2 separate regions of the Homo sapiens genome follow, and region 1 is linked to region 2. Evidence: promoter capture Hi-C in human tissues and cell types (Jung and others, 2019). All regions are on one chromosome and are shown on one strand. Each heading gives the region's core, a stretch centred on a gene start or on the middle of the fragment in contact. The rest is flanking DNA. Distances are from core to core; before and after follow the strand shown.

Region 1 (6,549 bases), core at 2,550-5,049, 260 kb before region 2:
CTACTCAGGAGGCTGAGGCAGGAGAATGATTTGAACCTGGGAAGTGGAGATTTCAGTGAGCCAAGATCGTGCCACTGCACTCCATCCTAGGCGACAGAGCAAGACTTTGTCTCAAAAAATATATATATTACTTATATAGCTGGGTGTGGTGGCTCACGCCTATAATCCCAACACTTTGGGAGACCGAGGTGGGCAGATCACTTGAATCCAAGAGTTTGAGACCAGCCTGGGCAACATGGTGAAAACTCATCTCTACCAAAAATAGAAAAAATTAGCCAGGCATAGTGGCGCACACCTGTGGTCCCAGCTACTCCGGAGGCTGAGGTGGGAGGATCACTTGAACCGGAGTGGCGGAGGTTGCAGTAAGCAGAGATCATGCCATTGCACTTTAGCCTGGGCAACAGAATGAGACTCTGTCTCAAAAAAAAAAAAAGTGTGTATATATGTATATATATAAATATCTTTGTATATTTACAGACATATATTGATATATTAATACATATTTAGTATACATGATTGATATATATTGATATAATTTGATAGGGCTCCTCAGGGCAGCACTAGTGATGCCTCCCATCCTCCAGTGCATCCCCAACCCTCCAGAATCCGGACACACAGCAGGGCTCATAGATGCATAGATGGACAGAGGTTCTTGGTCCCTACTCATTTGGGAAGTAGAGGCTTTTGTTGTTCAGAAAACTGGCAAGGATTTTCCCAGAAAGATTAGTAGATGTCTGTGAGGTCCACAGTTGACCTGATGTCCCCACTTGAAAGCAGGGAGGTGCAGAGACTGACTGTGCTGTTTCCCATCTCTCATTCAGGGAGAAGAAGCTGCTGGTGGGCTCAGAGGACTACGGCCGGGACCTAACCGGCGTGCAGAACCTGAGGAAGAAGCACAAGCGGCTGGAAGCAGAACTGGCTGCGCATGAGCCGGCTATTCAGGTAAGGAGGCCGCCTTCTGGCCAAGAGGGCAGAGGTGTTTGAGTGGGCCCCAGGGGACAGACAAACCCCTTGCGCTTATTTCACTGAGGTCCCTAAAGTGTTCATGACCCCTCAGTCCAAACCTGGAGAAGTCCCAAACTTGATGTTGAGGCCTTTTCCTGGGAGCTTCGAGACAGAAGCACCAGAAGAGCTACCTGCTGTTAACCTCCTCGTCCTTGCCTGTCAGGGTGTCCTGGACACTGGCAAGAAGCTGTCCGATGACAACACCATCGGGAAAGAGGAGATCCAGCAGCGGCTGGCGCAGTTTGTGGAGCACTGGAAAGAGCTGAAGCAGCTGGCAGCTGCCCGGTGAGTAGTCAGAGGCAGGAGCTCCCGGGAACAAGTGGAAGGCCAGCACCCAAGGGCAGACTCTGAGCTGTGGGGGTCCAGTGGGCCCTCCTACTGTCTCCTGGACCTTTGGCCTCACATGTGCCATAGTCGGTTTGCTCCAGAGCCACCTCCTACAGGCCATGCTGAGGTGGTCTCATTCTGTTCATCTGGACCCACTGTATGAGTCCAGAATCATACATGTTTCTGTATGAGTCCAGAATCACACATGAATCACACATGAATCACACATGATTCTCCAGAAATCAAGACATGAGAGTCTGGAATCACAGAGTGGGTGATTCATGATGTTCCATGGACGGCCTGACTGACTGTGAGGGCTCACCTTTTTTGTGAATGTTTTTGTTTTTGTTTTTGAGACGGGGTCTTGCTGTCACCCAGGCTGGAGTGCAGTGGCACAATCTCGGCTCACTGCAAGCTCTGCCTCCCAGGTTCACGCCATTCTCCTGCCTCAGCCTCCCGAGTAGCTGGGACTACAGGCACCCGCCACCAAGCCCAGCTAATTTTTTGTATTTTTAGTAGAGACGGGGTTTCACCGTCTTAGCCAGGATGGTCTCGATCTCCTGATCTCGTGATCTGCCCGCCTCGGCCTCCCAAAGTGCTGGGATTGCAGGCATGAGCCACCATGCCCAGCTTTTGTGACTGTTTTTAAGCATATGTTAACTATCACAATCAAAGCTGGAGGAGATTATGGCTGATTTTCTTCCTGTCTCCTGTAATTAGGGGTCAGCGGCTGGAAGAGTCCTTGGAATATCAGCAGTTTGTAGCCAATGTGGAAGAGGAAGAAGCCTGGATCAATGAGAAAATGACCCTGGTGGCCAGCGAAGATTATGGCGACACTCTTGCCGCCATCCAGGTGAGACAGAAACCAAAGGTGTCACCTGCTTTCTCTCTTGGCAACTGCCTGCTGGTCATCATTTCCCTGTTGGTTTGTTAGAGGGCCCTGCTCTTACTAGGAGAGCACACAGGGCCAGCAGCCAAGGCCTCAGTAGTTGGTTTTAGCCCTCAAGATCTCACACTAGGGGACATCACCCTTCAGTAAACAAAATTGGTATGGCTTTGTCAGTCTCAGTTCACGGGCCCTGTCATTCACCAGGCAGCGCTGTGGGCTTGAGTCTTCATATCAGTTTCCTGGGGCTGCCATAAATAAGTACCACAAACGGAGTGGCACGAACGGAGTACCACAGACAGAGTGGCACAGATGGAGTGGCTGAGGACAACAGAGATTTATTGCTTCTCAGTTCTGGAGGCCAGAAGTCTGAAATCAAGAAGCAGGCAGGACCATGTTCTGCAAACCTGTAGGGGAGGATCTTTCCTTGCCTCTTCCAGTTTTTGCTGGCACCAGGCGCCCTTGGCATGTGGCAGCATCACTCCAGTCTCTGCCTGTCTTCACGTAGCCATCTTCCCTCTGAGTCTGTCTTCACTTGGCATCACTCTGTGTGTCTATTCACATTTCTGTGTTCTGTTGTAGGGACATCAGGTCTATTGGATTAGGGTCCACGCTAATGACCTCATCTTACCTTTGCAGAGGACATTTGCAAAGATCTTGTTTCCACATTCATGGGTACCAGAAGTTAGGACTTCACCATCTCTTGAGGGGGACACAGTTCAGCCCATCACATACTCCCTAAATTGGTTAACTGTTGCTACATAACAACCCGCCTAAATGTAGTGGTTGAAAGCAGCACCCATTTCTTACTTCCAATGGATCTGTGGATCAGCGGCATCTGCAGCTGTCACTGGAGGTCCTTCACGCTCCTGCATTCAGGCAGAGCGTGGCTGGGCTGAGAGATCCATCACACACTGGCAGCTGAGCCTGATTGTCATCCAGCCTGGACATCTCTGTTCCCCTCCACATGGCCTGTTGTCCTCAAGCTGGCTAGACCAACCTCCTTCAGCAGCATTCAGACAGGCAAAGGCAGGAGCTGCAAGATGTCTGCGGCCTCACACATCATCCTCACTGCCTTCTGGCCAAAGCAAGTCCCAAGGCAGCCCAGAGGCATAGGTGGATAGATTCCCCTCTGGAAAGGAGATGCTGCAAAGTATCATGGTCAGATATGACTAAATTCCTGCCCCCAGATGTGGAAGCAGGAGTGTGCACTCCCAGGAATCGAGTTAGCTTTGAGCCACCTTCCTCACCATGGGAAGCATCCTCCCGCTGGTCAGGGTGATTCAGGTAGAATTTAGATGGTCAGTCATTTCCCATCCTCTGCATAGTTGAGTTCCCTGGAAGCAACCAAAAAGGCATGGTCTGCAGTGCTTAAATTGTACTAAGGAAAAGACCTGGGGCCAGGTGCGGTGGCTCACACCTGTAATCCCAGCACTTTGGGAGGCCAAGGTGGGCAGATCACCTGAGGTCAGGAGTCCGAGACCAACCTGGCCAACATGGTGAAACCCCGTCTGTACTAAAAACTACAAAAATTAGCTGGGTGTGGTGGTGCACACCTGTAATCCCAGCTACTTGGGAGGCTGAGGCAGGAGAATCGCTTGAACCTGGGAGGCAGAGGTTGCAGTGAGCCAAGATCACGCTGCTGCACTCCAGCCTGGGCAATAGAGCAAGAACTCCGTCTCAAAAAGAAAAAAAAAAGACATGACTTGGAAGGCCTTTTCTGAGATGTGTTCAAGTTAAACCTTAAAAATGTGTCGTTTTTGTTTGGGTGTATATCTTCAGCTTGCTTTGTGTCATTCTTGTGGTCCTCTTGGGGGAGAGACCATAAGTCACTGTTGATGGATGACAAAGGGTTTGACCCTTCCCAAAGGTCCAAAGACTGTCCCTGCTGAAGCCTGTCCCACCACTGCTGGTTACTCTCACTGCCTCACTGCCTCCTGTTTTCCTTCCTTTTATGATTCTCTATTTATTAATGTTCCTCTTTATTATCCTCTTCCCCAGCTAGACTGTAATGTGTGCATGGACAGGGACCATAGCAGTTTTGTCACTCTCTGTCCCCGGGGCCTAGCCCACAACACATAGCAGGCTCTCAATAGTGTGCCTTGGCTGCTTCTACTCCAGGGCTTACTGAAGAAACATGAAGCTTTTGAGACAGACTTCACCGTCCACAAGGATCGCGTGAATGATGTCTGCACCAATGGACAAGACCTCATTAAGAAGGTGAGTCCAGCCCATTGGTAAGACCTCCATCGCCCACTGGGACACCCACGTGTTGGTACCACAGAGGTCCCCCAAAGTTCACTTCCTGGGATGTTCACCAAACCAAGGTCTGCGTGGAGACCAGCAGCAATTCCATTCCTGTGTTTCGTGACAAGTTGGATATTTCCCCCTTTTTGAAGCCAGTAAAGTTATTCTGCAGTGCTTATTTTTTCTGCATTAAGCAACAGAGACACTGGCACTCCCAAATGCTGCTCTTAGTTTATTTCTCAAGCAATACAGTCTCTTTATAGGGACAGTAGAAAATGCAAATAAGCAAAACATAAAATAAAAATTACCCATAAAGCCCCACCCTGACACCACACATTAGATCTTTGTGTCTGACCTGCCAGACCTTTCTTTTCTCTCCACAGGTTTAGAGCTACCAGCTAGATCAAACAGCCGCAGACTCCCGTTTAATAGGATCATATCACTCCATAAATTATCAAAAACCTCGAGGCTGTACAGGGCATTTTAGAAATGAATCTACTTCATTCGCAGCCCTTTTGGGAGAAAAAATAAAGGGGCTTGGTGCTTTCTCAGCAGCAGCGAAGCCACATCCCTCCCACACAGAAGCTCTAGACTGAAGGCAGTGTGTCCGTGGGTCGGGAATTCACCAGCAATCACTCAGGTGCAGTGACGCACCTGGAGTGCCTCAGGACAGAGGTTTTAACAGCTATGGTTTCCTGTCACACACACATCATGAGTAAGATTTCTCATCACAGAGGTTGCACTCAGCAGTCATGGCCTTCAGACTAGGGTTTGATCCATAGGCAGCAACAATGTAGCTAAAATCCACTTCACTGGAGAGCTTTTCTTCCTTGCTCTGATCTGCAAATAAACTTGCGTGAAACTAATTTCAGCTACAGCCATGTATAGATGTAGACGTGGCTCCTGCACACTTAACCCCCTGACACACACCCAGACAACATTCTCTGTTCTTCAAGCCAGGAGATCACCAGTGTGAGTGTCCTTCAGCCTCCTGGCAACGAGCCAGCTGCTTTTTTTTTTTTTTTTTTTTTTTGCGACGGAGTTTCGCTCTTGTTGCCCAGGCTGGAGTGCAGGGGTGTGATCTGGGCTCACCGCAACCTCCACCTCCCAGGTTGAAACGATGCTTCTGCCTCAGCCTCCCTAGTAGCTGGGATTACAGGCATGTGCCACTATGCCCGGCTAATTTTGTATTGTTAGTAGAGATGGGGTTTCTCCATGTTGGTCAGGCTGGTCTCGAACTCCTGACCTCAGGTGATCCGCCCTCCTCGGCCTCCCAAAGTGCTGGGATTACAGGCATGAGCCACCACCCCCGGCCAGCGAGCCGGCTGCTTTGTCCTCAGCGACAGCCTGTTTCCTCTTTGAATTTATCTTTCAATTCTTTTTTCTTTTTATTTTCCCCCTTTCCACAGGTGTTAAAGAATTTCTCTTTAAATTCAATGTGACTTGTAGTATGGTTTATTTATTTATTTATTTATTTATTTATTTTTTAGACGGAGTCTCACTCTGTGGCCCAGGCTGGAGTGCACTGGCGCAATCTCACCTCACTGCCACCGCCACCTCCTGGGTTCAAGTGACTCTCCTGCCTCAGCCTCCTGAGTAGCTGGGGTTACAGGCGCCTGCCACCACGCCCAGCTAATTTTTGTATTTTTATTAGAGATGGGGTTTCACCATGTTGGTTAGGCTGGTCTCAAACTCCTGACCTCATGATCCGCCTGCCTCGGCCTCCCAAAGTGCTGGGATTACAGGCGTGAGCTACTGTACCCAGCCAATTTTTTTATTTTTATTTTTTGAGATGGAGTCTTGCTCTTGTCGCCCAGGCTGGAGTGTAGTGGCACGATCTCGGCTCACTGTAGCCTCTGCCTCCCGGGTTTCAGCAGTTCTCCCACCTGAGCTTCCCTAGCTAGCTGGGACCACAGGTGGGTGTCAACACACCTGGCTAATTTCTTTCTTTTTTTCTTTTTTTTTTTTAAGAGATGGGGTCTCACTATGTTATGTTGCCCAGGCTGGTCTCCAACTCCTGGGCTCAAGTGATTCTCTCGCCTTGTGCTGAAATTACAGGAGTGAGCCACTGCACCCAGCCCTGT
Region 2 (5,734 bases), core at 2,773-5,272:
GCCACTTGTCAATGACAACAAGCTATTAACTTTTTTTTTTTTTTGAGACAGTCTTGCTCTATCGCCCAGGCTGGAGTGCAGTGGCACAATCTCGGCTCACTGCAACCTCTGCCTCCCAGTTTCAAGCGATTCTTGTACCTCAGCCTCCAGAGTAGCTGGGACCACAGGCACGTGCCACCACACCCAGCTAATTTTTGTATTTTTGATAGAGATGGGGTTTTACCACGTTGCCCAGGTTGGTCTCGAACTCCTGAGCTCAAGCGATAGTCCCACCTCAGCCTTCCAAATTACTGGGATTATAGGCATGAACCACCACACCCAGTCAACAAGCTATTAACATTTAAACCTACCAGGCTTTCCATAAAATTAGTAACCAAGCAAAATGAAAAATCTCTTATTATATAATGAATCCAAATTTTTTTTGATAGAAAAAAAACAGAATTCCCTGAAGACAAATGTTTGGTGACAATTTGTTGAGCCAATGTTTTCCTGGAGAGAACAGCCTGTCTGAGGAGATCTAACAATTGCGTCACTCAGACACAGTCCCCCTGGGCTTAGGAATTGGCAGAGGAGAGAGAAATGACTTCTGGAGTCCAGACGGCAGGTTTACAGGCTGGAGGGGTTGGTGGAAGACCTGAGTGACACAAACAGTAGGTATCTCACCACTTATTCCTCCTGGCACAGGACCCAGATTCAAAAACCACAATCTCACTCCCATACATTAAAGGAACACACAACAGATAGGCAGATAGCCTCGCGGGAGCCTTGGAGGAGGTGGCATCAGCTTTACAGGTGGGGAAACTGAGGCTTAGAGAGGGGAAATGACTTACTCGAAGTCCCAGAAAAGCACCAGGAGGCCCCCAGCTGCAAGCTGGGGAATGAGGGCATAGGATGAGCATTTTAAAAATTATGCCGGGAGGCCGGGCGCGGTGGCTCACGCCTGTAATCCCAGCACTTTGGGAGGCCGAGGTGGGCGGATCACAAGGTCAGGAGATAGAGACCATCCTGGCTAACACGGTGAAACCCCGTCTCTACTAAAAATACAAAAAATTAGCCAGGCGTGGTGGCGGGTGCCTGTAGTCCCAGCTACTTGGGAGGCTGAGGCAGGAGAATGGAGTGAACCCGGGAGGTGGAGCTTGCAGTGAGCCGAGATTGCACCACTGCACTCCAGCCTGGGCGACAGAGTGAGACTCCGTCTCAAAAAAAAAAAAAGGAATTATGCAGGGAACTGGCAGTGCCATCCAGGAGTGGGATGTGGCCCCAGGTCTGTTCTGGCAGGAGTTACAGTGACTGCCTCATGGCTGTGAAGGCTCCTGCATTCCTTTATCGCCCCCACCTGGATTATAAAATCAGGCGCCCTACTCTTTGGAGCTTGGAGAGGTTAGTGTGGCGTTCTGGTGGTTGGCACCTAATGGAGGCATTCTCCGGGAGGAAAGATTCCTGCTGAAGCCAGACTGAATGGGTCTAACTTGTATATTCTCCAATCCTGTTGGTCACCCTCAGTTTCTTAGTGGACACCAAGGCCAAGTCCAGGGTAGGAGCCCATCTCTCCTTGAGTCTCCAGCCTCATCATTTCTCCTTCTGGACATCCTAGTTTCCAGTCACATTGAAAGTCCCTTCCTTGGAGAAGCCCCTTCTGACTCCACCCAGGCTAAGCCACATGTCCCCTCCCAGGTGGTCCCAAGACCTGGGCTTCCGCCCTCAAAGTACTCAGCACGGGGGCGCTCAACTCCAAGGACAGGAACTATGTGCTTGACCTGTTCTCCACCAGATCCTCAGCCTCTGGCAGCTCACCCAGCACAGAGTAGGTCCCCCAGGCATTAGCACAGATGATCCTGGGAAGCTAAGGGAGAGGCCTGGGAGCCCAGCAGCCTTCCTAGGGAGGGAGGGAGACCTGTAGGAACCCCCTTCTGGCAACTTTCTTAATCTCTCTGTGCCTCACTTATCTGTAAAATGAGACTTATCTGCGTGTAAAATACAAAGTATAATACGTGGGAACATTCACTGTCTACAACTGTGGTTCTGGTTGTTCATTTTACAGGCGGGGACATGGAGGCCCACGGAGTACCTGGCAGGCCCACAGTCCACAGGTTGGAAAGAGGTGCCCAAGCCCTGGACTTTAAGCCTGGGCTCTGACCTTCAACGTTTGCTTTTCACACCACACATCATGTCAATAAATAGTTACTGGATGCCTGTTGTGTGCCAGGCCCCAAGACGGGTGTTGCGTGACTGACAACAGAAAAAGCATCTCAGTGGCGAGGGATAAGCTAGATCATGGGCATTAGTGTAAATCTCCCAGGGTTCAAATTCCAGCTTCTCCACTTCCTGGCTATGATTTTTTTTTTTTTTTAGACGGAGTCTTGCTCTGTTGCCCAGGCTGAAGTGCAGTGGCCCAATCTCAGCTCACTGCAAGCTCTGCCTCCCAGGTTCATGCCATTCTCCTGCCTCAGCCTCCCGAGTAGCTGGGACCACAGGCGCTCGCCACCACACCCGGCTAATTTTTTTGTATTTTTAGTAGAGACGGGGTTTCACCGTGTTAGCCAGGATGGTCTCGATCTACTGACCTCGTGATCCGCCCGCCTCAGCCTCCCAAAGTGCTGGGATTACAGGTGTGAACCACCGCGCCCGGCCCTGGCTATGATATTGCTAAGTTTCCTAACCTCTCTAAGGTTCTTTTCTCTTCTATTAAAAGGGAAAAATAAGACCTCCCAACAGAAGTGAAACTAGGCATTGGCTTAACACGTGATGGATGGGAGCCACGACTATCTTCATCATCTTATTTTTAATTATCTATCTGTGCACATGGTAGTAAATTTCTCGCCCTGGCCCAGGTACCCAAGACCCCAATTCTGTCGGAGACAACCGCAATTAACAACTTCTTGTGCATCTTATCAGACAGCTGGCGCGCACACCCGCAGATACGCCCACCCTCAGGCGTCCTTCTACGCAAAGATGGATAGCACCCATCAACGCTGTTTTTTCTTTTTTTAGACGGAGTCTCGCTCTGTCGCCCAGGCTGGAGTGCAGCGGCGCGATCTCGGCTCACTGCAAGCTCCACCTCCCGAGTTCATGCCATTCTCCTGCCTCAGCCTCCAGAGTAGCTGGGACTACAGGCGCCCACCACCACGCCCGGCTGATTTTTTTGTATTTTTAGTAGAGATGAGGTTTCACCAAGTTAGCCAGGATGGTCTCGATCTCCTGACCTCGTGATCCGCCCGCCTCGGCCTCCCAAAGTGCTGGGATTACAGACGTGAGCCACCGCAACCGGCCCAACGCTGTTTTTACTGTTGTTTCCTTTTTTAACCTAAGGTATCTTAGAAGTCACCCTACATTAGTGCATATTAAACATTGTTCGTCTTAATGGCTGCACAGTATTCCACTGTATGGATTATTTTTTAATTTGGTTGCCGGTACTGTTATCAGCCAGGGAATTTGCGAGGACCCAGCGGGATTTATGGAGCTGCAGAGTTGGAGTCTGGGGACCCAATTCCAACCCCAGATCTGTCCAGAATTCTGTTGTCTCGGGTATCATCTCCACCGGCGCGGTCGTGGGAGGGGGATTTGGGTGCAGACAGGACCAGCCCCAGTGTCCGAGCGAGAATCAGCGAGCAGCACGCGCAGTTGATTCCCGCGGGCGGCTCAATCATTCTGTGCAGCCACTCCGTTATACTTAGTAGCATCAAACTCATTAAGCACTCTAGCACAACCAAGCTCGGAACCGTTAGCCGACCCTCCCAGCCTCGGCACCTGACCTTGGGGAAGTGGCGCTCCGACACAGCTACTCACCCTCACCTGGGCCGCTTCACCCCTCGTTCCCAAGTACACCCCGTAGGTTGCAGCAGTCCCTGTCCCTTTAAGGGGGCCGAGCCCGGCTCCGCTACTTCCGCCCCGAAGCAGCAGGGCGCTAGCGCGGAGGCGAGAGCGGGAGAAAGCGCCGCTAGAATTCTCCTCATAAAGATGGCGACGCCCTGGCCGCCGCGTTCGCGCCCGGCGGTGACGTCACTTCCGGGGCGGAGGAGGCTGAGTGGTGCAGTGAGGGACAAACAAAAGGAGGCGCCGGAGCAGCGCTGCGGCCGGCGGCGGGACGGAGCGGCCGGGGCCTGGGGCTGCCTGCCGGGCGGCCGGGCGCGGCGAGCCCAGGTGAGTGGACGGGGTGGGGAAAGGGGCGCGAGCTGTCACCTCTCGAAACCCACTTACACACGCCCTCGGCCAGCTGCCCGGCCCGGGGCGCCCGGGGCATCTGGGGCTCTGTCTCCGGGCCGGCCCCCTGGGGACCTCCCGCGGTGTTCGGCCTACCTCTGGGCTCCCCAGTGCCCGGAGTCTCCGGGGCACCACCTTCTCGCCGGCTCCGCGGCGCGCGAGCCCCCTCCCAGGCACCCCTGTGCCTCCTTGTGCTTCAGAAACCAGGAGTTTCCGCCTCGGCTCCCCCATGTCCCCTTGTCATCCCCTGGGTCCCCCCAGATCCTCACCCCTCCACACACACTCTCCCGTTCCTAGAGGTTCCACCTCTGGGCTCTCTCCTTGCCATTTCTTTTTCAAAGATTTCCTTAGCTGTCTTCTCCTGAGTTCCTGGTCCCCTTCTCTTCCCTTGCACCCCTCCTTCCTATCGTTCCGATGGGGGCAGTGCCCTGACTTGGGGGCAGGATCCCCGGCTAGGCTCTTGGGGCCTTTCTGGGATGGGATATTTGGGAAGACCGGTCCGGAATCTAAGAACCCAGACCCTGTCCCAGTCCTGTGCATTCAGGTGGGCCCGAGGGCGAGGCGAGATCCAGTGAGGTCCAGGCCTGGTGCAGCCCTAGGTGAGCTGGATACCCAGCAAACTGAGCTCCCAGGCTGAAGGGGCATAGCTGGGGTCATGGAGTTCATGATGATTCTGCTGCTTTCGCTGACTGCTTCTTCCCCTTGATCTGGACCGGGGTGAACCGAGGTCTGCCGGTTCTCAGCTGTTGCGATTGTTGCCTTTTTTGGGAAGGAGGGATGGGTCGGGGGTTGTCTGGTAGCCGCCTCCTGATGGAGACTTGGCTGGAAGGGTGGGCGGTTCCTGGGTGAGCCACACTTCCACTGACTCCTCTTCCCCTGCCCTACCTCAGGAAGCCTTTTGAGAATGAGGTGTGGAGGGAGAGCACCTGGTAAGAGGAAGGGAACTGGGGGAGCCCGAAGTTCCCAAGGACCTCTTCCACCTCTTCTGTTAGTAGTACTCTTAACCCCTGCCAAACTGTATTCTGCCCTTTGGAGCAGACAACCTGGCAGACAGACAGGCTGTAAGAAGCGGGAGGAGATCGGCTGTTGCTGATACTTCCTGTGGAGGGGATGTGGGAGTGGGAGTTTGTTCAGAGAGACTGGGCAGTGCTGATTGCTCAGTCTCACTGGTGTTGCTTCCATGAAGGTCAAGTCTTCCTCTGGCTCATGAAGTGAGGCAAGGACAGATGACCTGTGCTGGAGGAGGCTGTTGTGGACATGCCAGGGATGAGTGACTGGGTGGCTGGTCTCTGCTTCCTTGTTTTCCTGGTCTCAGGGCTTTGGCATGGGGTCTGATGCCCTCTGCGTTCTAGGGACCATAGGGTACAGAGCAGGGGGTGCAGGGCCGGGCGTGGTGGCTCACGCCTGTAATCCCAGCACGTTGGGAGGCTGAAGCGGGCAGATCACGAGGTCAGGAGTTCGAGACCAGCCTGGCCAACATAGTGAAACCTTGTCTCTACTAAAAATACAAAAAATTAGCCAGGCATGGGGCTGC

Evidence for each region. Contacts are between HindIII fragments. The study calls those that stand out against the background at their distance.
Region 1: a contact is called between a fragment that was not itself captured here and the fragment with the promoter of LRRC8A in region 2, in 2 of the 25 tissues and cell types used here (dorsolateral prefrontal cortex and spleen).

Annotation. Positions count from the first base shown.
Region 1 is chr9:128,616,819-128,623,367 of GRCh38, forward strand. It overlaps SPTAN1 (spectrin alpha, non-erythrocytic 1), which reads left to right. Exons shown (of 57, transcript NM_001130438.3): 42 at 822-942; 43 at 1,169-1,290; 44 at 2,053-2,185; 45 at 4,340-4,438. Among named protein-coding and RNA genes, the nearest start is that of DYNC2I2, 37 kb to the right of the region's middle. The HindIII fragment of the contact is 5,892 bases long and covers 854-6,549 here.
Region 2 is chr9:128,878,111-128,883,844 of GRCh38, forward strand. LRRC8A (leucine rich repeat containing 8 VRAC subunit A) reads left to right here and starts at 4,023. Exons shown (of 4, transcript NM_019594.4): 1 at 4,023-4,140. It overlaps KYAT1-SPOUT1 (KYAT1-SPOUT1 readthrough), which reads right to left and starts at 3,840. Exons shown (of 25, transcript NR_182311.1): 1 at 3,787-3,840. KYAT1 (kynurenine aminotransferase 1) reads right to left here and starts at 3,840. Exons shown (of 13, transcript NM_004059.5): 1 at 3,787-3,840. RefSeq lists an enhancer at 3,910-4,059 and a silencer at 4,090-4,369. The HindIII fragment of the contact is 17,929 bases long and covers 1-5,734 here.